Regions from separate parts of the Homo sapiens genome. Here all the other regions are linked to region 6. The links are contacts of gene promoters, found by promoter capture Hi-C in blood cells and fetal thymus (Javierre and others, 2016). All regions are on one chromosome and are shown on one strand. Each heading gives the region's core, a stretch centred on a gene start or on the middle of the fragment in contact. The rest is flanking DNA. Distances are from core to core; before and after follow the strand shown.

Region 1 (3,972 bases), core at 1,352-3,851, 700 kb before region 6:
ACAATAATAAATTCTTAAGGAATTGTGAAGCATCTTAGCTGACAATATCGAATGAGCAAACAATAGCCTGACTTGTCATGCAGCAAGTGAGGCCTTTCTGGGGAGAAAGGAAACAAGAGGAGGTGGGGGCCAGTCAGCCGCACAACATGCTCAGAGCCCACACGCTATCAGTTTTTAAAGCACTTCTTCACAGACTATCTGCCCTTGAACAACACATAATATAATGCTCAGCTAGTGAAAGAGAAGGATACGGAGGGATATTCATTGATAACAGTGAGGAAACTTAATTAATGTTAACGACACATTTCTTGATGGGAAGACTTAAAAATTTTATCCTTAGTTCTACTGGCCCCTCTTGAAGAGGGTGTCAAACAAACTGTAGCACCTTCAGAGAAAGGCAAACAGAAGGTTAAAAGAATCTGAAACCAGATTGTTAAGTACGGCTGTTTCTCTCTGAAAACACACAAAAAAACAAACCAAGGGAGATGAGTGTACAATAGGGCGAGCCCCTTACCTATTTTTTCGGCCTCATCTCAAACATCTCCTAGTGTTCTGTCTTGTTCACTGTCATATTCTAGAGCATAGTAAGCACTCCATAAAAATATGTTGAATAAATGAATAAAAGTCCTCAAAACAACTCTGGTTTCACTATCCCTCGAGGATGCCACATTCCCTCTTGCCTGTGGATCTCTGCACACATTATTCTCTCTGTCTGAATATTCCTCCTACTGCTTTACCTTATCCTCTAAATTTTCTGTCTTATAGCATCCCCAAAAGACACCTGCATCAAGTAAGCACACACAGATCATCTACCCCGTTATATACCAGAGCTCTTCTCCTTTCCCTTTGTAGCACTCATGATAGTTTGTAATTAAATGTTTGCTTGAGTATTTTGATTAATGCCTGTCCCCTTGACCACACTAAAGGTTCCAGAGAAACCACAGGACATGTCTATTTTGTTCACAATTTTGTTCCCAAGTACCTAGAAAAGTTTCTACAATGCAATTGCCATACAATAAATATTGAAAAATGTGAAGGAATGAAAGAAGGGCCCTGAAGTAACATCAGTAAAATGGCCTTCCTTGACAACACCACATTTTCAAGAGATTTTTTTCCCACTCAGAAACCCTGCTGAATAGCCAGTATGCCTCTCTATGACCACAGTCCCAGAGATAGCCATGACCAGAAACAGACACTTAACACTTATGAAACAAATCACTTTTCTTCCCAGTAATTTTGAGAGACTGAATCTGTTTACTATGTATGGAAAAGAAGCAGAAACCAGGAGGTACTAGTAGTTCCATACCCATCATATTAGCAAAAAATATAAAGTCATGCAATACCCCGTGCTGGTGATGGCATGAAGAAAACAAGAATCCTAATGCTTTACTGGGGGAAAGTAACCCTAGTGAAGCCTTTATGTTTAAAAAAAAACAAAAACAAAAAACAAAAAACACAGAGCCTAGTGAAACTCAATATTAAAATGCACTATGATCAAGCACCCTCCCCACAGCCACAAATCCTGAGCTAACTTCTGCCAATCATTAAGAACACATATACAAAATGCTCACGACAGTACATTTGTGGCAGCCAAGAGTTGGAGGTATATGACTACCTCACTTTGAGGTGTATCACTAACGAAATCAATCAGTGAAATACAATGGATGCACACTCTGGAAGACTCTACAGTATTACAAGTAGTAAACCTCCTAAAGGAGCTGCAATGTAAATAGATTTTTTTTTTTTTTTTGAGACAGAGTCTCACTTTGTCACCCAAGCTGGAGTGCAGTGGCGTGATCTCGGCTCACTGCAACCTCTGCTTCCCAGGTTCAAGCAATTCTCCTGCCTCAGCCTCCCAAGTAGCTGGGATTACAGGCGCTTGCCACCATGCCCAGCTAATTTTTGTATTTTTAGTAGAGAAGGAGTTTCACCATGTTGGTCAGGCTGGTCTCGAACTCATGACCTCAGATGATCCACCTGCCTCGGCCTCCCAAAGTGCTAGGATTACAGGCGTGAGCCACCGCACCAGGCCTGTAAATCGATTTTTGAAAGATTATGCTGATCATATAGATAAATGTGAATTAACATAATTATTTAAACTGATGAGCAATAGTACAGCAATAGTTCCTAATCTATGGGCAGGGTATATATTGGAGATACTGCAAAGGTCCTGACAATTCTATGCCTGCTCACTGAGCATTATTCATGTATGTGATTAAATATATTTCACACATATTTGTATCATTTGTAAAAGTATGTAATTGTTTTCTCATCTGTAGAAAAAACTAATACCAATGTCTCAGCGCTAATCAAATTTACAAATCTAACTCACACGAATAATATGTGACATTAAATATTTACACGTTATCTATGTATTATAATTCATAATACAGGTTGGGCGTGGTGGCTCACACCTGTAATCCCAGCATTTTGGGAGTCCGAGGTGGGCGGATCACGAGGTCAGGAGCTGAAGACCAGCCTGACCAACATGGTAAAACCCTGTCTCTACTAAAAATACAAAAATTAGCCAGGCGTGGTGGTGCACGCCTGTAATCCCAGCTACTCAGGAGGCTGAGGCAGAAGAATTGCTTGAACCTGGGAGGCAGAGGTTGCAGTGAGCTGAGATTGTGCCACTGCACTCCAGCCTGGGTGACAGAACGAGACTCTGTCTCAAAATAATAATAATAATAATAGCAATATAAATGTTACTTATTTTTGAGGGGGGAAGACTATGCTGAGCAACAACAGTAGTAAAAAGAGTAAGAAATAAGATCAGATCGATAGCACAGAACCATGATCTAAAGGCACAAGGACAAAGTAGCGAAGAGTGAGATGTACAGTCAGATTGCCTGATTTTAAATCTTGCCTCAGCTACTGACTCACCAGGTATGTGAGCTTAGAAAGTTACTTTCTTTGTGTCTCAGTTTTCTAATCTATAAAACACACTAGATAACAGTCCCTGTCTCATGGAGTTTGTTGTGAGATTATTATAGTTATTACATTTAAAGGACTTGAAAGAGAGCCTAGCATATGGGAAGTGGCTGATAAATGTTAGGCATGATTATTGTGGAAATGAAAACAATAGTATATATTTCTAAAAATTCATGCATTTATAAGTGCTATTCCAAGCCCGTTAGGCTTCTGTGAGGTGGAAGGGAGAATGGAAGAAGGAGAAAGGATGAGGAAAAGAAAAGAAAGAAAAAGAAAGTCAATCAAAAACAAGAGAGAGCCTCTTCAAGGACTATTAATAAGAATTGACCATGCTTGGGGTCTTATATTTAACTCAGCCCAGTGGATCTGGTATACATAAGGGAGAAAGAGCAGAAATATTCATGGAATCATGTCAACAGACGTGCAGTAAAGTAAAAGTTTCAAAACTCCTGGTTCCAAGGACCTCAGAGCTATTGTTGTTGCTTCCAACGTCTTTTGGATTTCCTACCACACAATAAACCAACCTTGACTAGTGTGTCACTTTCTATTTTTTGCTATCTTAGTATAATCTCTGACTACGAAAGGCCCTCAAGTAGAAAAAAGTATCAGAGTTGCTCCATGTTGCTGCAGAAGGCAAAAGATTTAAGAAGGTAGAATACAGTTTAAAAAGACACATTTCTGATTCTAATTCTAAACCAGGTAAATTCCAAGGTTTTTCAGAAAAGCACGTTTCAACAACTCACTAAGATTTTTATGAACATAAAAAGCCTCAGACACACTAAGAAATAGTGCAAAATGCATTTTCTTTACAAATGTTGTTTGGGAGAGGACTACCATTTGCCATATACACAGGCTTACTTGGTTCCTCTCAGTTATAGCACAGGCCACACAAATTTCCAGAGGTGAGATTAGTCCACAGTCTCCTACCCAAGTCCCACTGAACGTCCTAGGCAAAACTGACAGAGATCGTCTTTCTGATTGGTCCCCATATTTAGCCCCACCTTGGTTGCTACAGTAAATGTTAGATAAACTTACCACACT
Region 2 (4,126 bases), core at 1,431-3,930, 560 kb before region 6:
ACACTCTCTCTTCCAGGAAAGTACCTTTTACCTCCCACAGTTCTTTGTACTCTCTTTAAGTATAGAAGAGATCAGAGAAGGAGTCTGAGTCATTCATTCATTTATAAGTTCATTCATTCAACAAATATTTACTGGTCACCTATCCCATGCCAGGTACTACTCTAGGCACTGGTGACACAGCCAATGAACAAAACAAAGTTCTCTATTTTCAGGGACATTTTAGTACAGGTGCTGGCAACCTGTGGCACGCAGACCAAATCCAGCCTACTGCATGTTTTTGTGAATAAAAGTTTATTGGAACATATTCACACGCAATTATTTATGTATTGTTTATGGTGGAGTCTTGAGTGTTTCGTGTATTATCTAAGAGCAGAGTGAGTAGCTACAACAGACACCTTATGGACCACAAATCTAAGCTGTGTACCATCTGTCCCTTTACAGAAAAAGTTGACCATCCCTTGTTCTAGTATATTTTTCCCACATAGCACAGTGTTGAGTACGTAGTAGGCAGTTAATACATGCTTAAAGAATAAAACAGATTAAAAGTAAGAATAAAATCATATAAGACAAGTCCTTTGGCAGAACCTCTTTTATCCACCCCCATCTCCATTCTTAATTATGCCAAAGCTAATTCCCACCCAGAATAGAATGTTGTTAGCAACTACAGTTTAGCATGATAAAAAGGGAGGGAGCAAGCTTTCAAACCTATGGAAAAGTTAAGAAGTAAATAAATGTGCTGTGATTTCAAAAGTCATTGCTATTTCAGGCTTGTTTGTGATGATAACAGCTGGCCTGGCAAAATATATTACAATAGCTGTCTTTTCTGGCTTTCCAGAGCTTACAAAAGTTTGAAGGGAGTTACTGCATTTCATTGGTTTGTTTGCTTCATAAGGTGCATCTTGTGGAGGAGACCTTTCTGTCTTCTGGATCAAGCTGCCTAATGAGACTCAGATTAGGTTAAACAAAAACACACAGCAGCATGTGAGGAAAACCCCATTCTGTCAAATACTAAAGTAAAGTTCATAAATGCAATCTTATATCCACATCCTAAGAGCTGTCTTCTTTATCATGTCCATATGAAAGCCCTGCCTTCTCTCAAGAAAAGAACTGAAAACTGTGCTATTTGCAGGATCCTTTTCAGAGGTTGAGTTACCATAAAATTTAAAGTGGAGAACTGATATATAGCTAAGGTTTCATTGTGGTTTACTGCAAAGAGTAACAGTTTTAGATTCAAACAAGTCTCTGTTCCACAAAAACTGTGGCACTCATTAATCATGTAAACTTAGGCAAATCATTTAGCCTCTTTGAGTCTCTGTTTCTTAGTTATAAATTGGGATAATAGAAATTACATTGAAGGAAGGATGGGAGAATTAAACGAGAGAGTAAATGCAAAGCAGCTTTCTCAGAATCAGAAGAAAAATGGTTTTCAGTAAAGGATGGTTGTTTTCCTTCCATTTTGTCCAAAATCAAGTTCCAAGCAGCTCCCCAAACCTTGAAAATACCTTCATTATGTTGTCTCTAAACTCCCTGAGAATGTTACAATATGTTCTGGGTTGTTGTTTTTTTTTTCTTTTTTTTTAAGTCAGTAAATTGGGCTGGGTACAGTGGCTAACACTTATAATCCCAGCACTTTGGGAGGCCAAGGCAAGCAGATAGTTTGAGCCCGGGAGTTCAACACCAGCCTGGGCAACATGGCAAAATACTGTCTTTAAAAAAAGTACAAAAAAAATTAGCTGGGCATTGTGGCACACAACTGTAGTCCAAGGTACTTGAGAGGCTTCAGTGACTCCAGGACATTGAGGTTGCAGTGAATTATGATCGTGCCACTGCACTCCAGCCTGGGTAACAAAGTGAGACTCTGTCTCAAATAATAATAATAATAAATAATAAATAAATAAAATCAATAAATTTGGAGAGATGGCAATTGTATATCTTTGACTTTTCCTTAGTCTGACCTCAAGAAAATTATTTTTAATTTATTATATCCTTCTTAAAAGAGAACTACTCTGAAGCTATACAATAGCTCTTCATTCTATGTCCTGGCAACTGATTCTTAGCAAAACATTCCTTAAAATAACAGTCTCCAAAAGGCATTATACTAAGAACATCCTGATTAGCATCACAGAAAGGATAATCAGGTTAGTTCTGACCTTCCCTCCTGATTTTGAAATGAAACAAAAATGGCCGAGCTCTGGTTATTTCCACTTTCTGGTCCCCATGGCCTTTGGCCCCTGTAACCCACAGTGTAAAATGCAATAAAGAAATTCATAAGTTTTCATCAAAATCATCTCCATTAACTTTATAGATAGACAGTGAGCAGACAAGCAGGTGTAGATATGGATAGGCAAATAGATAAATATAAATGACAGGTAAAAATGGAGAGATATACATGAAACAGGGAGGTAAGAATTGCCAGAAATGGTTAGACGGACGACTGGATAGAGAGGCAGGAGGGTGGATGGGCAGGTGTATGGAAAAACAAGCATGGAAAAAAGGAAGGATGGAACTAGGGCAAATGTAGAAGATAAGATGCTGAGCAGACACATAGAAATGCATAGAGACAAAGGGATAAATCCATGACAAAAAAGATCAATCTTAGGACTGAAATAGTAGAAAAATCTCCTCTCACAGCTTACTACTCCTTCAATCTTCATTTAAGAAAATATTCAAAGGTCTCTCTTCATCATTATGTCGTCATATCCAGAAATGTGTTTACAGTATTATATATGTGCCCAGCAACAGAAAATGAACTCTTTGAGCAAAACAAATCTATTGTATCCTTCTATGAAGAGAAAATAAAAAGTCTTCCAGATGGCATAAGGCAACTTACCTAACGCAGGACATTCAGGAGACCAACCAATCTATTTTTTAGTATTTCTGTAACTAATGTTTTATTAATAAAGAGAACTTGGGCTAATATGTTTTGCTGTAGTCAGAATTTTCTACAAATTAATAACTCTACAGGTCTGACCTTTTTACCTTAACTGAGATCTTAACTAAAAGTACTGCTAAACTCCAATTCAATACATATTAATTTATTTAAAAAACTGGATACTTCAAATTCCTTTACTGCCAAAAAAAAAAAAAAAAAAAAATGGCCAAGTGTGCCTGCCATGTTTTAAAGTAAGTTCCTTTCTTGGTAAGCAGCTAACCCTTAATTATGGAAACAATAGTCACAATCGTTCGTCACAAAATCTCAAAATGCATGTGCATATATCAGATAATGCAATATTATGCAATGATTAAAATTTACATTTTGGGAATGTTTACAATACAGTGTTATGTAAAGAAAACAGAATAAAAATACACATAGATATACACAAACACACACAAAAAAAGAAAAAAAATAAACACACACAACCCTTCTTAAAAAAAGAGAACAGATTACCCAAATGTTTAAATTAGAACAATGATGTCCCTGGATGATGGACTCATTAGGGTTATTTTAATTTTCATCATACTTTTGTGCATTTAACTTTTTAAAAAGAGTCTATGTAACTTTCATAATTGAAAAAGAAATGTCTGTTCTGTTTTAGGGATGATAAAAGTCCCTTTGTTGAGATTACAAATAGGAAGGTATTTTTCTGTTTACAGAGTACTTTCATAGGCATTAACTCATCTGAGCCATTCAACAACTCAGAGAAAGGGGTTTGATGATGATCTCCAGAGACAGACAGCAGAGCGGTGAAGCTCATAACTCGAAATGTGACACAGGCAGACCTGGCTCAAGGCTTCCTGGTGCCCTACTGTCTTCTTTACAATGTCCATCCATTTTTCTCAAGAAAGGAGTTTTGTCTTAGTTTGCTTTCTAAAAGGGTTCCAAAACTGTTTTACTTCCCTCTCATCCCAAGGTCCAACATCCTATTTTTTTAAAAACAAGAACCAAGAATCAAAAAACAGATAGCCCACCCCAGATGCCTCACCTCACAGTGGGACGGGGAGACTATTCAAGAACTTTAAAATTCACTGTTGCTATTTTCGCATATTCATACAGCCAATTATCCTAACGGGACTTGTCCAACCTATTAAGGGGATATCCAGGCACAATTTTAAAAAAAGACACAGTCTGACCTAGAAAGGGAATCAGAGACGAAGATTCAAAAGCTGCTTAAGACGACGTAATGCT
Region 3 (3,965 bases), core at 763-3,262, 530 kb before region 6:
CAGCTAGTTTAGGGCGAATGACAATAGCCAGGGATGGTCAGGCACCTCAAGCTTTAGCAGAAATCTGTGGTCAGCATGATCAACCGTGTGGTCAATATGGAGGTCATGTCTCGGCATTTGAGCCACTGAAGTCTAGGACTGAGTGTTAAATGTAGCTCCAAGAACCTTATCCCATAACAAGGAATGAGTTTTCTTAGGAGGGAAATGCACCCTCGACCACCAGTTCATAAACACACTTTAACACAGTCCATGTCTCTTAGAGAGATTAAGAAATGGGTATAATAACCATGGAATTAAACAGAAAGTTCTATTAAATCTTATTATTAGCAGGTTTTATTCTTTATTATTAATTATTATTAAGTAAGTTCTCTTAAGTCAAACTCAGATAAAGAGTCATGAGACTTTCCGGAAAAGGAAAGAAACTAAAATTTACTGAGCACCTCCTCTGGGATAGAAGCATTTAAAAAACTAATAGAGAAGAGAGAATCAAGGAATATTTCCTGAGAGATGTTCCTCTGAGTTGACAATACTCTGGGGCACCTGGCAGCCAGGCTATGGCTTTTGGGGCCACGTCCATTTCTTCAGCAGAATCCTGGTAATGCAGTGCTGCTGGATGGGCCCCTGTATTAAACCATTCTTGCCCTGCTATAAAGAAATACCCGAGATTGGGTAATTTAAAAGAAAAGAGGTTGGCCAGGTGAGGTGGCTCATGCCTGTAATCCCAGCACGTTGTGAGGTGGAGGCGGGTGGATCACTTGAGGTCAGGAGTTCGAGACCAGCCTGGCCAAAGGGGCAAAACCCCATCTCTACTAAAAATGCAAAAATTAGCTGAGCATGGTGGTACGTGCCTATAAGTCCAGCCACTCAGGAGCCTGAGGCAGGAGAATCACTTGAACCCAGGAAGCAGAGGTTGCAGTCAGCTAAGATCATGCCACTATACTCCAGCCTGGGCATCAGAGTAAGACCTGTCTCTCCAAAAAAAAAAAAAAAAAAAAAAAAAGAAAAGAAAAGAAGTGGTTGAGTTGTTGAATTATTGGCTCACAGTTCTACAGGCTATAGAGGAAACATAGCAGCATCTCCTTCTGTGGAGGCTCAGGAAGCTTCCCAACGTGGCAGAAGTCAAAAGGGAGCAGGCACTTCACATGGCAACAGCAGGAGAGGAGGACAGACAGAGAGAGAGAGAGAGAGAGAGAGAGAGAAAGAGAGAGAGAGAGAGAGAGAGAGACAGAGTTGGAGGGTGGGGGGTGCCACACACTTTTAAATGACAAGATTTCACAAGAATTCACTATCACAAAGACATCACCAAGTCATGAGGGATCCGCCCCAACACCTCCCACCAGACTCCACCTCCAGCACTGAGGATTAGAATTCAACATGAGATTTGGACGGGGACAAATATCCAAACAAATATCTAAACAAATATCCAAGCATCAGCCCCCAGAGGCCCCAGGGCCACGAACCACTCTTTCCTCCAGGTTCTGTGACTTACAACAAGAGCACCTACCTGCCACTCCATGTCTGGAGATCAATCAAGGAACTAGCTAAGAAGGAATACGAAGTTGGGGTCCGGCCACCAACAACCTTCATCTACTTCATCGCCACATGATGAAGCACAGCAGACACAACAAAGAGACACAGAAGAGCCTGAGAAGCAAGTATGGCTGTGTTGATAAGCAGAGTGAGAGAATAAAAGGTGTGGAGTCAGGTTACACACAGGACAAAAATGGGAGACAAGAGAAAGAATAGAGGAAAGGACAGAATGAAAGAGCTGTTGTGTTTTTTGTTTGCTGTGTTTATTTATTTAAAGCATACTTTTGCCAAATCATTTTTTAAAGTCACACTTCTGTTCAGTCTTTCAAATGGTAACTACAGCAGGCTTTGTTTTCTTCACTGACCAGCAGCACCTAGAAAAGTTCCTGGAGGCTGGGCGCGGTACCTCATGCCTGTAATCCCAGCACTTTGGGAGGCTGAGGCAGGAGGATCACGGGGTCAGGAGTTCGAGATCAGCCTGGACAATATGGTGAAACCCCATGTCTACTAAAAACAAAAAAATTAGCCAGGTGTGGTGGCACGTGCCTGTAATCCCAGCTACTCAGGAGGCTGAGGCAGGAGAATCGCTTGAACCTGGGAAGTGGAGGTTGCAGTGAGCCGAGATGGTGCCATTGCACTCCAGTCTGGGCAACAGAGACTCCGTTTCAAAGAAAAAAAAAGTTCCTGGAATACAGCAGGTGCTCAATAAATAATAGCTAAATGAATGATGCCCAGTTAGACTGGACCATCATTGCTGAGAAGAAAGCATCATTTAAAGTTACCAAGAAGAATAGCAAAACACTGTTTATGCTTCTCTTAACTCACTTTAATAAGGTGGAGAGCCAGGCACAGTGGTGCACACCCACCGTCCCAGCTACTCAGGGGACTGATACGGCAGAATTGCTTGAGCCCAGGAGTTCCAGGCTGAGATGAGCTATGATCACACCACTGTACTCCAGGCTGGGCAACAGAGGGAGGGGAGACCTCATTTGTAAATAAATAAATAAATAAAGTGGGTAACACAGTTTATGGCTCCATTTATTCACCAAACTTGAATTAGATTGACCCGCACTCTAGGACAAAGGAAAAGAAGTCATCCCATCAATGAAACCCTAAAGCAGAAAAGCCTCTCTGTGGAAACAGAGAATCAAGGGAAATGTACTCTGTACAGTTATGTTTTAATCTGAAAGTGATGACCCAAAGTCAGGATGGGCTCTGGCCATTCCAGTCTCTCCTTTGGGAAAAGGTGCCAGTTTCCACCTCTTAAGACCACCACATGCTGTAGAACTAAAATAGAGGTGACTGCTGATTCCTTTAAAGAAATAACAGTTGGAGAAGGGGACAGGATTTAGAACTAAATTTAAGCACTGAATTAGGCTTACCTAGAAAGCTTGACTGTCAATTTTCATGGTGTTCCTTCAGTCAGACTCCTAACGATAATTGGAAGGATTAATTCCTAGATAGTTCAGAAACTACCCTTTTCCCATAATGGAAAATACGTGGTAACTTGGAGGTGAAACTGCTTATTACAAAACAGTGACAAGGGTCAGTCTCAACCAATCCACTCTAACCATAAGGTCTATCAGGAATTCTTGCGGCCTGCAAGACTGGCACTTCTTTGTGTGGCTGTGCCTAATCTTAAGAGGCTATTATTATTTATTACACATGAAGCACTTTCTATCTGCAGAGTGCTTTGGAATCGTTTTTTATTAGTTACTCAGCATTCTGAAGTCTAAACACAGCTAAAGTTCTAGTGGAGGATGGAAAACTCCATGATCTACCAATTCATCACACTTGACAGGTCCATGCCCCTCCTCCCAATGGGGTGGACAAGTTGATAAAGGCACCAAGAGAGTGGTCAGAACGAGAAATCCAATTCAATCCCACTCTCATTTGCCAGAGCTACCTGGCACTGGGCTAGGGGCTGGGAGCTGTAGCAGAAAGAGGTACAAAAATAAATTTGACACAGCTCTTGACCTCAAGGAATTTACAGTCTGGGACTATTTGACAGGACTTTTATGGTCCCCTTTGTGGTTAAGAAAGCATAAATAGGTTTTAAATATCATGTGCAGAAACACAGAGCATGTTCCTACATGACTCACAATTTGAGCAATTATACAGACATAATCCAGTATCAAAAATGGAATAAAAAGGAAAGAATACAGAATGAGCTTCTCCAATTTTCAATTTCCATTGTTAAGTTAGGAAGTCCCAAACTACATCAGAAAAAAATTTAGAATAAATGAATTCACTGATAAAGAGAAGAGAGAAAAGAAAGCCAACACAAGAAACTTACTCTAAGAAAAAAGCAGACATTTAAGAGAAGGGTTTACTTTTCATAAAGCCATGTAAGGGTGGCATTTGAAAGTTACTATTGAAGGAAGTTACAAATAATTTCATATATATCTCTAAACATTGACGTTTACAGCCTTTGA
Region 4 (3,968 bases), core at 547-3,046, 690 kb before region 6:
ATCTATATATGAAAATTTCACTTAGCATAATATTACATTGACAATATATATTACATTGACATGTACATATATACGCTCTTGTCAATGTACTATGTGTTTCTTACCACTATTTATGTCAGAAAAAACAAAGTTCGAAAGTCATTACTATAAAGACTGCAGTAAGCTGTAGAACTGACTGCTACACGATTAACAAGCAGAGAATTCAAAAACAGGTCTTAGAACACTAATCACAGCATCTGTAGACTTCGTCTTCCTATTACTTCTCAACAGTAATCCAGATCGCAACTGGAAACCATGAGAAACATGGGACACGATGAAGTTATACTACCATTCACCCTCCCCACTTTCTCTCACGATGTGGACTATCAAGTTCCTGTTTTAGGAGACAGGGTTTCTTTTGTCCTCACCCACTCTTTGCCTCTTTCTCTCTTTCTGAAATAAAAATTTTAAAAAAAGATAACACCAAGAGAAAGGAAAACAAAGAAATAAAAGGTTTCAGTTTTTTGTTTACTTCTTTCTGCTTTTTTCCTTCCTTCTTTTCCTTCTCTCTCTCTCTCCCTCCTGTCTCTCCATACCTTCCTCTTTCTCTCTGGCCTCTCTTCTCCATCATCTCTCTCTCTCCTTCCTATTTTCTCCTCTTTCTCCCTTTCCTCTCTCTCCCTCCTTCTCTCTCTCCTTTCTCCTCTCTCTCTCTCTCTCTCTCTCTCTCTCACTTTCTGTCTCTCTCTCTTTCTCTCTCTCTCATCCCTGAGCTCTTTCAGCAAACTATCAGAATATTTTTTTCTTTCTACTTCTCTGGCTGGATGGCTGGGTTTGAGTAATTTTCTTTTTCCTGGGGTTGGTTGCTAAGAGACACTCTATTACTTCCCTTTCTCTTATGACCCGATTACTGTGATCAGCAAAGACGGCATGCAGACAACATCCTGACATGGTTCATACAAGATTGCTGTGCCTGGTTACAAAATGATTGACTTTCTTAACCCTCTCACAACTGTCAGACCAAAATTTCCTAAGTTATTTTTCACACAGGGACAAAGGATTTCCCCACTTTCCTTTGAAATGGTGGTTGTGATGGATTAACTGTATCCATCACTATAACGTTCAATACTCCAGTTGAAATACATTCAGTGAAAGCTCCACGCCACCTCCTTATTCTTAATATATATTTCTTTTCATTTTAGAGGTAAACAGACTAAAAAAATGTTCTGAGTTAATCTCCAGCCTAGATAGAGATAAGGCTCTAAGAGAACCACTAAATAGCTTCTTGGCAAGAGTCCTCCAGCCCCTGCTCGTTTTTCTGGTGTACATAGCCAAAGCAAAGGTCATCCCTTGTTCATTCCTATCCTGCACAGCTCTTGGCAGAATACCTTAAAGGTCCTAGGCACTTAATGGATGTTTGCTAAATGAATAAATGCATGTGTGTTCGCACTGAGCTCTTCTTCCCATCCCTTGAGGCTCTTGTCCAATCCTCCCATCCACACATTTCAGGAAAAGTAAAAAGAAAAGGTTACAAGCTCCTTTTAAAGGTTCTAATGCCATCAAAACAGACTAGAAATTTAAGCAACAACAACAAAACTAAATGTCAAAAAGTAATAAAGATCCTGGGTCTTTATCTAGCATATCATCCCTGGGTGATATTATCCTCATACAACTTGGAAGAACCAGCAAGACATTCATTTCTTTATTCTATCCTCCTCCCCAACACAAGGATAACCTGGAAGAGCTTTAAAAAAAAAAAAAATTCTTCTTGCCGTAGGTCAAATTCACACATGATCACCTATAGCATACACACAAAGACCTCTCTGAATCCACCCTGATTCATAGCTACATTTTTATCTTAGAACTTCGTGCCTTCAGCTAATACTCTGATTTCTATTAAAAATGAAGTCCTTCTGGGAGGGTTCCATTTTGACATACTTTTATCAAAGATTTAGAGGACGTCTCTCCTTTTGATAGCTATCGCTGTATACACAGATATAGTAGATATCGGTAGCTCAGTACATGCACATTTAACAAATATTTTTGTATAGACTTTGGAAGTGAGCAAATGAAATACAGTAGAAAAATCATGAAGTTTGGATTTAGAGATATTTGTGTTCAAATCTAAGATCCATTCTTTGTAAGTCATGATGCCTTGGGCAACTTACTATCTCTCTGAGCCTTAATTTCATCACTTGAAAAATGGAAATATTAGTACCAAACTTCAAATAATGCTATGAAGATGACATACCAGATACCCGGCATACAGCAGGAACAAATTAAGTGTTAGCTTCCTCTTAACTACATGCACTTAAGAACATGAATGTATATTTTGCTCAGGTGTAGAGAAAAAGATGTGTAAGGATATTAGCTTAGAATGAAAGGACATGGGGTTGTCAGAGGAATATACTGAGGGCGTACAGACTGCGGAGACTATGACCCATGTCACAACCTAACTAAATTCACGATATTCTATGGGAACAATTTTACTCCATGCACTTCAGGAGTAACCAATTTTATGCAATATCTGTAGTTGAATCATACTTTTGTACAATCTTAGAGCAGGAAGGAAGTGAAGAAACAATATTGTTCAATCACATTGTTTTACAATTGTGGAAACTAACCCAGAGTCATTTGTTGATTTACATAGGCCTCAAGAATGCAGGGAGTGTCCTTTCCATTCACCCTTCCCTCCAGTGAACTCTTGTCTTGTACAGTAATTGCCATTTTGATTGACTGCCACCTACTTTTCAGCATGGCTAAGATAAACTCAGCTTGACTCTGGCAGACCTTTTTGATGGACCATCCCTGCATAATTCTGAGATTATATTCACAACAAAATCAAATTTTAAGATAAATGCGAGGTCTTCGCTAAAAATCATGGCTCTTTATACTCTGTCTCGTGCTCCTAGGGTTGGGTTTATTCTTGAAAACAGAATGTTTGAAGAGTGTTTCGGTCTTCCATGGTGCCCAGCTTTCAACTACACGTCTTTCATCCTTCCAATCCCTCGGTGACTCTAGCTTTGCCTTTCTCTACTTCTGAAAAAAATGCCCAACTAAGGCACTGGTCTATGACCAACAAGTTTCCTGGCAGCTGTTCCAGTGAATAAAAATTTCTTGGTAGTTCTCAAAATAGGCACAGTTTCTCAGATGTGTTCTCAACCTTGGGCTGGCTGTTTTCTAGGGTAAAAGGCAGTCATTCCAGATGACAACCATTTCACGCAGGTTAATTTTCATCTGAATCATATTCAATATAGAGAAAACTGTATGAGATAAGCTGCTTAGGAATACTATAAACTTACCATTAGCAAAATATGATACCTCAAAAATCCCTATATTTAAGAAAACTGTGGCTGTAGCACTCTAAAAAGAGTAAAAGTATTTGAGAGCCAAGAAATCCTAAAGAAAAAAAAAGTTAATTATGTAATAATTCAATGAATTAAAGGAAAAATTCTGGAACAAATAACTTCTACATATAAAAAAAAAATCTCAATGTTGAGCTGGGTGGGGAAGACTCAACATCATCAGTGATGGTGTAAAGCATTTTCAACTTTACTGAACTTGGCCTTACTATTGGGCTTTCAGTTATGTCTATGCCTTCTCAGGTTGCAACAAAAAGATTTTCAGAAATTTTCAGAGATAATCTTGCCAGTGCTGCTTCTCCAGATGTCTAAGGATGTTCAGTCATCTGCATCTATTACTCTAACTGCACATTATTTACATTCTAAACAAACACATGGTATAACAAATCACACAGGTAAGTAAAAGAGTGCAATGATTGCTGCCACTTCATCATCTTAATTGTATAGGTTGAGTTTAAAGAGTTTTTTTCACTTTTCCAATTAACTGATATTTCAGTCACGGTACAACCAGATAGTGGTGGTGTGTAACTGTAATGCTCAAATAACAAACACTTGGTATAGACAGAGAGAAGGAAGATAACATGCTATCCTACTTTTAAAAATAATTAAAGAGCTGTAAGATAACTT
Region 5 (3,956 bases), core at 106-2,605, 580 kb before region 6:
CACTACATTAATTCCTAAACTTTATGTGGTCAAATGAGTTGATACACAACATCATTCTCAGCACTATGTTGACAGGACAGAGGATGATAAGAAAGTAAGAATTTAATCTACATTCTTGAATAAAGAGAAGAGTTTCGTTTTTCCTTTGTTTGGGCAAAAAGTCACGTTCATTGTGTCTCTTTACTTCATTTAAAATCCAGAAGAATTGAGATTGAGGAAAAATAAGAATGCTTATCAAACAGAGGTCAGACCCAAAGAAAAAAGAATGCCCTCACAATACTAAGAATAGAATACAAGCAGGAAACAGGGGAGGATCTCCATGATATATAATTTTAAATTAGAAATATAATTCTGAAGAACAGACAGGTACATACCTACAATGTCTTTATAAATATATAAAGAAACTAATCATTAAACTAGTTATATTAGTAAGGCCCAGTTTCATTTTCAATAGAAAAAGCATCATGTCACTTTTATTTCACTTTATTTCATCAACTTTAAGTACAACCACTTTAACTATCAATACCTGATAAGACTCGTAACTGTGGATTTAACAGAATAACGTTAAGTTATACTTCCAGAATAATGTATAGAAACGATCATGCCCCCTTAACAGCACTTGGATCTTCAATCAGGAAATTCAATTTTAGCTGCAAAACTATGTTTTGGCAAAAGTGCAATTGAACTCAGTGTACTTGTCACATTTCTAAATATACTCCGGTCACCATGACAACAAGAGAGACTGATGGATTGCTTAAAAGAGTACGGTATATTTAATTGTCAGCATTTTAAACTGACTCAGAAAAATGCTGTGTGATAGGTCTACTCACCATGGTTACTGCTGGCTGAGTCCATAATAATAAAGGTTCACATACGCACATCACCAGCGTGCGCACAAAGAACGTAAAAGTCGGAAGACCTGGTATTTCCAACCACCTCAAACGCCAAACTTAAAGCTTTAGAAAGACTCGTTATCATCAAGGTGCCCCTCAAGAACCTCTCTCCCCAAATGGTCAGATGAATCCCAAGATCTGTGTCTGCACACAGGGCCACTAGAGCCAATCCTAAATCAGATTCCAACAACTGCTTCCTTCTCAGATTAAAGATAAGAAAAAGTCGAGGGTATTTTCTCCCGGGATATATCTGGGAAAAAGAATGAGAGAGACTCTTTGTTCTTTCTTGTCATGTAGATCTATTCCCAAATGATAATCTTCTGAGATCCATTCAGTTCCTGAATAAACACTTCCTGCACAAAAATCCCTATGCCAGAGAATCTTCTACAGGCGGAGATACAGATGCAACAAACATGGACCCTGCTCTCAAGAAGCTGATATCCTAAAACAAGAGGAACACAAAAAATATAAATATATAATCAGCTAAATAGAATGAAATAATCCAAATAAATGATCTATTAAATTATTTAATTTACCATACAGTGTGCCTAGCCTATAGCAAACACTCACTAAATCTTCACCATTATTATTATTACTAAAATATTTCTCACCAAAACAGTTTGCAATGTACATAAAGAAAACAAAAGCATGGTAATCACTCTTTTAGAGAACCATACATGCTTTGTAGACTATAAAGCAAGATAATGACAGAAGAATGATGGGGAGGGGGGTATGTGTGCTACTTTAGCTAAAGAATGGGGAAGAGCTAGGTAAGGCTTTAACATTTGAGCTAAGCCTTGAAAGATACTTCCAAGCCAGTTTTGCACAGAATCAGAGAAAGATCAAGTGGGAAAAAGCTTGGCTTATACAGAGGGCTAAAGGAAGGTCAGTGTGTCTACAGATTACTGTGTAAAGTGATGAGTGGTATGAAAAAAGCAGAGAGGCCAGGCGCAGTGGCTCACACCTGTAATTCCAGCACTTTGGGAGGCCGAGGCGGGTGGATCACCTGAGGTCAGGAGTTCGAGACCAGCCTGGCCAACATGGTGAAAACCCATCTCTACTAAAAATACAAAAATTAGCCGAGCGTGATGGCTGGTGCCTGTAATCCCAGCTACTCGGGAGGCTGAGGCAGGAGAATTGCTTGAACCCAGAAGGTGGAGGCTGCAGTGAGCCGAGATCGCACCATCGCACTCCAGCCTGGGAGACAAGAGCGAGACTCCATCTCAAAAAAAATAAAGAAAGAAAAAAAAAGGAGAGAACATAGAGTCATCTCACAGGGCTTTGCAGGCCATGAAAGGGCCTTTCAAACATTTCTACAGATGCTCCTTGATTTCTATGGGGTTGGTTACACCCAGATAAACTCAGTGTGAAGTGGACAAATTGTAAGTCAAACCATCATAAGTCAGGGACCTTCTGCAGATACTACAGCAGCCACCGTATGGCTTAAGGGGAGGGGTGTGATATGATCTGACCAACAATTTTAGATCTCTCCAGATGGTGTGGAAAAAGGCCACAAGGGGAAACCATAAAAGTAGAAGACAATTTCAGAGACTATTGCCATAGTCATGGCAATGGATGGTAACTTGAATTTAGGTAGATTCAAAAGAAGTAATGATAGCAATCAGAGTCAGAAAACATTCTGGAGGCAGAACAAACACGCACTGGCCAAGCATGTACTCTGAGCAGGAGAAGTAGTTAAATGAGTTATATGGAGGTCCTACAACACGGGGGTGAACATGCCTCATGCTTCAGGAGGTCTTGGTAGATCTTGAGATGACGCATTTCGGGTGATGCTGCTGCTCTGTGAATGACACTTTGAGAACCAAGGCTCTAGGAGAGCCAGGAGACAGGAACAACAGTGGAGCAGGAGGTGATGAACGTTGGACTTATGGTAATAATAGATGGAATATAGTAAAGAAGAAACATTCAAGAGATGTGGCAAAAAGAAATTACCAAAGACTTGAGGGCAAATAATCTAGGAATGGAAATAAAAAAGAAGATGGTGCTGGTGGAATTGCCTCTAAGCTTTCTTAAATGACATTGTTCATTATATAGATAGAAAAACATGGTTTCTATCTATCTAGTGCAAATCAGTTTTCCAAGTCACATTTCATGTTGCCACAACCTATCCCTATAAAATAAGGCTAGGGAAATTATTGTAGTTATAGATAATAACGACAACAACAACAATACCAATCATTTATTGAAAGCTTATTCTGTGTCAACCACATTGCAACATGTACTATCTCCAAATCTGGCAATAACTCTATTCCTATGTAAGAAAATGACAAACTAATGCTCAGAGACGTTATATAGCTCACCCAGAATCATTCCTGCTTCAGCTGGATTCAATCCCAGGAGAAAACCCTAAAATCTATGACCTCCACTTCCATTCTGCCTAACAAGCTGAATCCATAGGAGAATAAGATGCCCACTTGGGGCATTCACCCTCAAAGTCAGAGTTCCCTTTTAATCTGACTAAATTTCAAGATCACAACTGGCAAATCTTGATTCATAGACTCTAGCAGCATAGCAATAAGGACCCAAGGTCAGGTGCCACGTGCATAGAACAACCATGACTTATTTTATTTCCACATAAGGAGAATGCAACTTGAGTGTTTCATGAGCTATTCACTGCTCATGCTCAGACTCATGTCTCTGCACTCAAACTCTAGTGCTTTTCCATGGCCTCTGTTTACCCTCGACTTTATTCTGCTACTGCTTTGCAAAGTTTTCTTCCCAGAAAATAAGTGGCTGTCTACACAGTAATGTGTTTGGAGTGAAGATGTGAGAAAGAGGCCCTCATCTGTGAAGATGCATGGTGAACGGTAGTAGATATTGACAAGTAAGAAAGGTTAGTTTAGATATTTCCCCAGCCCAGGAAGTGGGTACAAAATGAGCCACAAGACCTTCCTTCTAGTTACCCACACTGTGCTTTCCCAAGGTGATTCACAGGTACAGCTCCACTGATCTGACAAAGGGGACTGTCTTCAGAAAGATGAAAGGATGTTTTTATGTCTGCTCTCTCTCTTTTCTTTATTTGTTCCTTCTCTAGTAACAACA
Region 6 (4,302 bases), core at 1,758-4,257:
CTTTCTAACTGGTCTTCTGTTCTGGTCAATTTCTTTCAGTGTAAACACATTGATTTGGCAAAAAGCAGTAGGAAAATGTGGCACTCTGGCACTTGGTCCCAGAAATAATATGCTGGGAAGATTTGAGGTCCCTGGTGATGAGGTTAATTATATATGAACCAGCCCTGGTGGGTTCTCCCTCTAGGGGCTCACTGCAGAGAATTAAAGAGGGCTGAGGTATGAGAAGGGTGAATTCCTTCCCAGCCCCCACTCTGGCTGGTTCTACTACTGCCTTAGAGAGCAGATTTCCCTTTGCTCTGCAGCGCCCCCATGGGGCTAAGAGTGGAGTGGCAAAGGGAACACAGGAGGGACAAGCTGTGTTTCAGGTTGAGGGGGGCGGTGGATGAGGCTGAATGGCAGTTTTGACAAAGAAAAAAGTGACCAAAAATCATAAAAATAATCTTTTGAGGGCCCAATAGTAAGGCAGAGCCATACAATTCACATTCCAAACCATATAGATACGTCTGAGAAATCCTAAAGTGCTAATTGCTCATAAAAGAAAAAATTACACATATAAACACACAAAGAAAATCCCTTCCACAAAATCGGGGTGTCATTTTGCATCCAGCGGGATTCATTTTAATTTCTTTGAAAATGAGAAGGAAGGGGACTCAAATGAAAAAGCAGATAGTCTGCCTTCTGGCAGAATAAATCTGAACTTGACAATATCATGTGTCTTTGGGGGTAAAACGTACATTTCAACAACAGTGACAGGATTAGGCCTATGTATATTTTTCAAAAACCGTTCACAAGACAGGCTTTTCTGCAGAGGCTGCAGTAATCCATCTGTCAATAAGTATTAAAATATTCAGATTTCACAGGGACAGACACTTTAACGCATATTTCCTAAGCTCCAGCCCTTGTGGAAAATAATCAACCTCTTTGCACCTTTCTGGGTTTTAAAACCTAAAATACAGCCTTTAAAAATGTGTGTGTGTTGTGGGGTAGGGGGGTGCATTGCCAACAACATTTTCGGTGATAGATGGAACTTCTTACGGGACTGTCAATGAAAGAGATTTTCCAAATATCCCAGCAAACAGCAATCTTTCACAGCTCTGATCACTCCTCCATTATAAACCCAAATTTTGGGTTGAGATAGGTAGATTATTTTAGACATATCTTTATTAGAAATTAACAAGTGACGAGATTTTGTGGAAGCTTTAAGAATTCATCTGTAATTTAATAAGTCGCTTGAAGGACTCTCATAGCCAAGGCTCAGAACAGCCTGACCTTTGAAAGCTGCTTCTGGTCCAAACATTTTGGGCTAATTCTTGAGGAATCTGAAATATTATTTTCCCCTCACACCCTTCTTTTAAGAGAGAGACATAAAAGAAACAAGAGTCTCCCTTATTCAGGGATGAGTAGGAGGGGAAAAAACCCGAACCAACATTTAAATAAGGAAACTAGCAGCTCTGAACAAACAAACTAGGACCCACAATGAAATGATTCTGCACTGCAATTGCCTTTAAAAAGAAAGTAATAGAGAAAAAGAGAAGGAAAGAATTTCTCCTTCTTCTCTACCCCCCCCCCACCCCACCCCCCAACTCAGCTTCAAAGCTAAGAAGACTGTGCTGCGTGTAGTGCATTGTAGTTGTGGCAGTCTGTTCTAAATACAGGCAGTATCTGTGATACTGGCACGGCAGGCCTTTAGAATTCCCTCCGGCTGATCTCTTAAACACAGACTGAAGAGATTTTTTTACAACGACCTTGAAACGAGCCTCGAAAACAAAAATCTCAAGACCTTAAGAGAAAACAAAACACAAACAGGTATTTGGCTCACAGAATTTTGTAGAAAACACACACATACCACCCCGCCACCCCCACCCTCCCCCCCACACACACGTTTCTTGCAACAAGAAATTTCCCAAGAGTCAACAATAACAGATTAAACCCACCACTTGCTGTCCTGGAAAGAAACAAACCAAACCAAAACAAATCCTTTGAACATTTCTCTGAAGTGCAGGAGAGACACACTTCAGCAAAAGTCCAAGGGGGAAAAAGAAAATTGCACCAAAGGAAAAAAAAAAAAAAAAAGTGGGGGCTGGGATTGTTACATATGGCCAAAAATTTAAGCTTCTTTCAATAGTATTAGTATTGAAATAATACATCTTTAAAACGCTTGAGGGATTAGATAGGGAAAGAAAAGGCACGTACAAAAAAATCCAACCGATGCCGATCCTGTGATTTACGTAACACCACAAACTTGCAAAAGGCAAAAAATCAGAAGCAAAAATCCATAAACCATCAAAATACAGAAACCAAAAATCCCAAGCCACCACACCAGAAAGAAAAAAACCCAGAACAACAGCAAAAACCCCTGTCCTAAATAAAAATAAAGCAAATGAACCCACCGAAAACTGCTTGGCAAATATTTTTCTCGTGGTGCCTAATATTCTAGTTGGAAAGAGCTGTGATGTTTATTTTATTTTATTTTTCTCTTACTCGCCTCTCTAACCCTACTATATATATAACATACTTTTCCCAGTGGTTCAAACCTCTCGCTCCCTTTTGTGCATTTAGCTCGATCTGCTGAGTTTATGGGTAAGAAAGAAGGAATTAGCCCCAGACCCCGGGAAAGCAAAGCGCACTCCCCCTCTTATGTCACCGAATAGCAAATTAGTTCTCAGAATTCCAGAGGCCGAGCTTTGCTACAGCGAAGGCGCCGACGTCACAGAGGAGGAGCCCACGTGATGGTGGCGGAGCAGGCCATACCATCGTCTTGGGCCCGGGGAGGGAGAGCCACCTTCAGGCCCCTCGAGCCTCGAACCGGAACCTCCAAATCCGAGACGCTCTGCTTATGAGGACCTCGAAATATGCCGGCCAGTGAAAAAATCTTGTGGCTTTGAGGGCTTTTGGTTGGCCAGGGGCAGTAAAAATCTCGGAGAGCTGACACCAAGTCCTCCCCTGCCACGTAGCAGTGGTAAAGTCCGAAGCTCAAATTCCGAGAATTGAGCTCTGTTGATTCTTAGAACTGGGGTTCTTAGAAGTGGTGATGCAAGAAGTTTCTAGGAAAGGCCGGACACCAGGTGATTATTGCTGTTGCTGCCGCCGCTGCTGCTGCTACTGCCGCCGCCGCCGCTGTTGCCGCTGGTGCCGCTGCCGCCGCCGCTGCTCATGATCATTATTTTACCTTTTAATTCTTTTTTTTTCCGCTCTTGCCAAATGCTTTGGCTCCAAGTTTTCTATGTGTATCTATTGATATAAATGTATATATTTATTTATTCTAGCTGTCAGGTGTTAAAATAAATGCCGAAGATTAGTCCCACGTCTCTCCCACCATAGGATATAGATTGTTATGTATTTATTATTATTATTGTTGTCTTTGAGTGAATCGGCCGGTTTGGGGAGGCTTTTGCCACCCTCCCTTGTGTTGTTTTGGTTTTTGGAAAGGAGGTGGAGGAGAGGAAGGAGGGGAATTAGGGGGCGGCCGGAGCAGAGAGGACGAGACAGTGCTTGGGGGGTGATTCGGGCTAGTCTGGGGGCTGTCTGGCCCCAGACCGCGGAGAGGACGCGCGCTCGCGCTCTCGCTCTTTCTGCTGCTGCTTGCGTACGGCTTGTGATCTCTCTGGATTCGTGCGGCTGTGTTTTTTCCCTCTTTTCTCGCTTGCAAACTGCTTTCCTTGCTCCGTCGCTCCTGGCCTCCGCTTCCCTCCCTCCTCTTTTTCCTCGCCTCTTCTTCCTTCCCTTCCCCTGTCCTTCTGGGTAACTCCGGGAGGCAAAAAGGGAGGCTGCCCGCTCGCTCGCCCCGCTGGCTCTCTTCCATCGGCCTCGGTCTTTTAGATTCCCTGCCTTCGAGCCGAACCGAGATTTGGAAGGAAAAAATGCAAGCGAACTCTTTGGGTTTTTGTTTTTGTTTTTTTGGTCATAAATCCAGATGAGATGAAGTATCGTGTCTACTATTTCCTTTCAGAGCCGTGATCTTCCTAATGAGAGCCGAGTGTTTTGGTGTTCCCTGCCCCTGTGTTTTGGGGAGCTTGGGGGCGGGGATGTTGAACACTTTGAAAATTATTCTTTCTTGGTTGTAGTCGAGGGAGTCGGGAACCTCCGCGCGCTCTCCCTGCTCATCCCGAGGAGAGAGACTGATGGCGGGACAGGGCTTCTTGGGGTGGGTGGGAAAGGGGTGCGCACTGCACCTGCGATGCCTTTCAGTGTGCGGGGGGACTCAGGGAACCTCGACAGGACAGCCTGGGAGAACGAGAAAGGTGGCGGGATTTCTGGCCGCTGCGGTGTTTGTATTTTGGGCGCTGCGTGACTCTGTGTTGG
Region 7 (4,160 bases), core at 276-2,775, 620 kb before region 6:
TGCTTATTGCTTTTGCCTGTTCGACTTCTCAGAGTTAAACTTGTTGGGGATGCATCAAGAATCTCCACAATGGGTGGAAATAATAGCAAGAGTCCCACAGTGATTTGACCATTTATGAATCTAGTATTTCATGGAGCACATTTTAGAAAAGGCTGCCATGAATATAACAACTGACTAGGATAAGGGCATAGCTTTAGACTTGACAGCATCCTTACTCCTGAATGTTAAGTTCTACAATCCAATTAGGAACTTGTACATTTAACTCTATTTTTATCGACATCATATTTATATATTAACTAGTATGCTAAATTCTATTTTTATCCACACCAGATATATCTATTAACTAGTATGTTTAACTCTATTTTTATCTATACCAGATCTATTTTATAATAGATGTGACAATAGGCAACTAAAATATTTGACACTCAGAGTGATTTCTACTTCTTGAGATTTTCTTGGAATGTAGAAGAAGCCATAACCCACTCTATAAGGACTGGGTTCTCCCTCTGCTACAAACATACCCTGTGATAATAGGCCATGCTAAGGGGAACTTTCTCTCTTCTCTTTTTTTTTTCTAACTATTCATAGGCTTAACTAAGAATCAACTTTCTGGCCAGGTGCAGTGGCTCACGCCTGTAATCCCAGCACTTTGGGAGGCCAAGGTGGGTGGATCATGAGGTCAGGAGATCGAGACCATCCTGGCTAACATGGTGAAACCCCGTCTCTACTAAAAATACAAAAAATTAGCCGGGCATGGTGGCGGGTGCCTGTAGTCCCACCTATTCGGGAGGCTGAGGCAGGAGAATGACTTGAACCCAGGAGGCGGAGCTTGCAGTGAGGCGAGATCGCACCACTGCACTCCAGCCTGGGCGACAGAGCGAGACTCTGTCTCAAAAAAAAAAAAAATCAATTCTTTATAATGCAGCAAAACAGTGAGAAGACATCAGGCATAGAGCTAACAAGGGAATGAGAACTGATGCTGTCCCTGTCTAACTGAAAGCCTGCAGCACAGGCCAATATTTGTCTCAGGGTCTCAGCTTTCTCACACGCATGTGAGCTAAACAGATTCCCCGCTTTCACATCTCATGAGTCTGTGATTTTAGCAGTGGCTCTTCATTATCTCTGAAGACAATTCCAATGTGGGGTTACATTGGCAAATGACAAAATAGAGTTTCCAGCACTCATTCCCTCTCAGAAACTTCTAAACAACTAGCCACACACCAAAATACCTCACACACGTTAAGGAATTCAGGCGAGAGTGCAGCACCTGGGTGGAACATAGAAATAAGAAATGACGCATTGAGGAAGGCAGGAAGGACAGCTTAACATGACCTGTACAACCCCCAGCACACCGCTGACATAACCTCCAGGTGAGGGAAAGAGAGTGCCCTTCACCACGGAGCCCAGCCCCAGAATCCCCTCTAAGGCAAAATCAGTGTCTCAAGGAGACACCTGCACTCCCATGTTCACTGCTGCGTTATTCACAATAGCCAGGATGTGGAATCGATCTAAATGTCCATCATTTGAAGAGTGAATAAAGAAAATGCGGTGTATTACCACGTGGAATGTTATTCAGCCTTAACAAAGAAGGAAATCCTGTCATTTACGAGAAGATGGATGAATCTGGAGGAAATGTTGCTTAAGGAACTAAGCCAGGCACAGAAAAACAAACACTGCGTGACCTCACTGATATGTGCAAATTAAAAAAGTCAAACACATAGAAGCAGAGCAAAATGATGGCTACCGGGACCAGGGGAATGAGGAGATCTTGGTTCTTGGTCAAAGGGAGATCCAGTGATACCAAATGAATAATTCTGGAGATTTAATACACAGTGCGGTGGCTGTAGTTAATACTGTATTGTACACTTGAAATTTGCTAATAGAGTAAATCTTAAACGTTCTCACCACATACACAGAAAGGTAACTGTGAGGTGATGCCTATGTTAATTAGCTTGACTAGGGTAATCATTTCACAATGCAATGTACCTCAAAATATGTTGTATACCTTAACTATACATAACTTTTGTTTCGTCAATTATATCCTGATAAAGCTGGAAATTGATTTTTTAATAAAAACAAAATAAAAGATAACATTCAACAGAGTAAAAAAAAAAAAAAAGAAGAAGAAAAGAAAGAAAGAAAGACATTACCAAGATGTTTTGAGCAACGGGGCAGCAACTTAGGAACAAGTGTTCCCTGTGCCTGAATTCCAGTCTCACAAAGACTGCTGCTCGAATAACTACCTCTTGCAGGTACGTGTTCTAAGGTCTAGGCTAAAACTCCAGTCTCATGATTCTACAGTCATGACATGTAATGTTTGGCCAGCAACACACACATTATGGTGCCTCATCAAGTCACATACTAAAAGTGACGGTAAACTTAAAATCAGCTTGACATGGCAGAGAGCAGAGGCGAGACAGACACAGCGTGGAAACACATTCACCACATACTGCAGGGTTGCTGGTGGCATCCTCTGTTGTCATAATGACCTTCTACAGGAAAAGTATTTAAACATACACTTCTACTGCCCAGAATATAATGCATTCTAGGAAATACTCTCTTGCTGAAACCTACCCAGATTTATTTTTAATGGCAGAGGACAAGAGTGGTTTTAATATTAGCTTCTAGGAAAAGGAAGAGATAAAGAGAGAAAAGTAAGATTAAGAGGTCACCAGAAAAAAAAAAAAAAGCGCTTCTATTACCCTTAAAACTCATCTGAGAGAGGAAAAAAACATAAGGAGGACTCAATAGCCCTTTATTAGCCCTCTGTTTAGTGCTCTAAAGAGAACTCTATGATTCTTCTACAGACATCCAACACTTGCTGCCTCTGTCATTCCTATTCCTGCCTCTCACTCAGACAAAAGAAGAAAGCCCCCTTTGAAATACATTTATTAGAATGGACTCCAGGGCTTCTTCCTCTGTTCATTTTAAATACAAGACATCAATACTATAAAAGCCTCACTCACACATCTACTGGTGCTGGAACTTAGGTCCCACCTACAATAACAGGCCTCCAAACGGTCTGAATGGTGGCCAGAGGGCAGCAGGAAACAAATATGAAAAATAAAATAAAATGTGCAGCTCCAAAACTTCACTCAGCCTGGGAAGTCTTTTCCCCTTTCTGCCAGGTCGAATTCAAATTCTAATGAGCGTGCAGGTTCCAGATCAAAACCCTCCTCCTCCAGAAAGTCTTCCTTTATTTTCTCTCCATTTAACTCCAATCCCAGCCAAAACTAACATCTCTCTCCTCTAATGACTACAAATTCCTCAACTCTATCTCTGAGTGTTTTTGCATGTCTATCTCCAATAGAAGTTTTCTGCATTAATTGTCACCAGCCCCATTCTCCCAGAAAGGAAACCCCATAAGTGTAGAAGCTGTGTCTGGTTTAATTCAACAAATATGAAAATAAAATTTGTCTAAAAAACGAACGAAGGCAAGTATATAAATAAGTATCAAATAAGAAAGGCTCTATTAAAGACAGTAAGACAGGGATAGCAAAAAGATTCCAGGGCAGAAGTTAAGCAAGTCTGTGTCAGGTATGAAACTAGATATGAAGACTTCCAAACACAATGCAATATATTGACTGAAAAGCATGGAGATAGCTAACATTAACTGAGCATAAACAATGAGTCGGGCAGGGCCTTAAACATTTTTGGTAATAACTCTGAATCCCCAAAGTAATCCTTGAGGTAGATACTGTCATTACCTTCATTAAGTTGGAGGATGATGAGGCAAATGAACTGCAGAGAGTCCATGTAACTTGCCCAAGCAAATGGCATTGCCTTCAAACCTCGACCAAGACAGTCCAGCTAATGTGCTTGACCACGCTTCTGCAGAAAACTGCCAACATCTTGCCCAAAGGAACAAGTACATAGTATTTTTTTTTTTTTTTTTTTTTTTGGGAGGGAGTTTTCACTCTTTCGTCCAGGCTGGAGTGCAGTGGCACCATCTCAACTCACTGCAACCTCTACCTCCCAGGATCAAGGGATTCTTCTGCCTCAGCCTCCCTAGTAGTTGGGATTACAGGAGCCCGCCATCATGCCTGGCTAATTTTTGTATTTTTAGTAGAGACGGGGTTTCACCATGTTGGCCAGGCTGGTCTTGAACTCCTGACCTCGTGATCTGCCCGCCTTGGCCTCCCAAAGTGCTGGGATTACAG

What was found. Contacts are between HindIII fragments. The CHiCAGO score rates a contact against its expected background, and 5 or more counts as called.
Region 1: a fragment that was not itself captured here is called in contact with the fragment with the promoter of BCL6 in region 6 in 1 of 17 cell types (total B cells); the score reaches 5.9 in total B cells.
Region 2: a fragment that was not itself captured here is called in contact with the fragment with the promoter of BCL6 in region 6 in 3 of 17 cell types (M1 macrophages, M2 macrophages and activated CD4 T cells); the score reaches 8.4 in M1 macrophages.
Region 3: a fragment that was not itself captured here is called in contact with the fragment with the promoter of BCL6 in region 6 in 4 of 17 cell types (M2 macrophages, M1 macrophages, M0 macrophages and 1 more); the score reaches 9.8 in M2 macrophages.
Region 4: a fragment that was not itself captured here is called in contact with the fragment with the promoter of BCL6 in region 6 in 6 of 17 cell types (M1 macrophages, monocytes, total B cells and 3 more); the score reaches 13.6 in M1 macrophages.
Region 5: a contact is called between a fragment that was not itself captured here and the fragment with the promoter of BCL6 in region 6, in 1 of 17 cell types (activated CD4 T cells). The highest score is 5.1, in activated CD4 T cells.
Region 7: a contact is called between a fragment that was not itself captured here and the fragment with the promoter of BCL6 in region 6, in 2 of 17 cell types (naive CD8 T cells and naive B cells). The highest score is 5.5, in naive CD8 T cells.

What each region holds. Positions count from the first base shown.
Region 1 is chr3:188,448,523-188,452,494 of GRCh38, reverse strand. The region is part of intron 4 of LPP (LIM domain containing preferred translocation partner in lipoma); the gene reads right to left. Among named protein-coding and RNA genes, the nearest start is that of LPP-AS1, 120 kb to the left of the region's middle. The HindIII fragment of the contact is 6,076 bases long and covers 1-3,972 here.
Region 2 is chr3:188,299,424-188,303,549 of GRCh38, reverse strand. The region is part of intron 2 of LPP (LIM domain containing preferred translocation partner in lipoma); the gene reads right to left. Among named protein-coding and RNA genes, the nearest start is that of FLJ42393, 120 kb to the right of the region's middle. The HindIII fragment of the contact is 3,963 bases long and covers 699-4,126 here.
Region 3 is chr3:188,273,930-188,277,894 of GRCh38, reverse strand. All of the region lies in intron 2 of LPP (LIM domain containing preferred translocation partner in lipoma), which reads right to left. Among named protein-coding and RNA genes, the nearest start is that of FLJ42393, 97 kb to the right of the region's middle. The HindIII fragment of the contact is 1,820 bases long and covers 1,103-2,922 here.
Region 4 is chr3:188,430,343-188,434,310 of GRCh38, reverse strand. All of the region lies in intron 4 of LPP (LIM domain containing preferred translocation partner in lipoma), which reads right to left. Among named protein-coding and RNA genes, the nearest start is that of LPP-AS1, 140 kb to the left of the region's middle. The HindIII fragment of the contact is 4,911 bases long and covers 1-3,968 here.
Region 5 is chr3:188,323,160-188,327,115 of GRCh38, reverse strand. All of the region lies in intron 2 of LPP (LIM domain containing preferred translocation partner in lipoma), which reads right to left. Among named protein-coding and RNA genes, the nearest start is that of FLJ42393, 150 kb to the right of the region's middle. The HindIII fragment of the contact is 794 bases long and covers 959-1,752 here.
Region 6 is chr3:187,744,173-187,748,474 of GRCh38, reverse strand. BCL6 (BCL6 transcription repressor) reads left to right here and starts at 3,007. Exons shown (of 10, transcript NM_001706.5): 1 at 3,007-3,065. BCL6-AS1 (BCL6 antisense RNA 1) reads right to left here. Exons shown (of 2, transcript NR_173091.1): 2 at 2,449-3,231. RefSeq lists an enhancer at 3,369-3,894. The HindIII fragment of the contact is 3,720 bases long and covers 2,115-4,302 here.
Region 7 is chr3:188,363,647-188,367,806 of GRCh38, reverse strand. The region is part of intron 3 of LPP (LIM domain containing preferred translocation partner in lipoma); the gene reads right to left. Among named protein-coding and RNA genes, the nearest start is that of FLJ42393, 190 kb to the right of the region's middle. The HindIII fragment of the contact is 6,150 bases long and covers 1-4,160 here.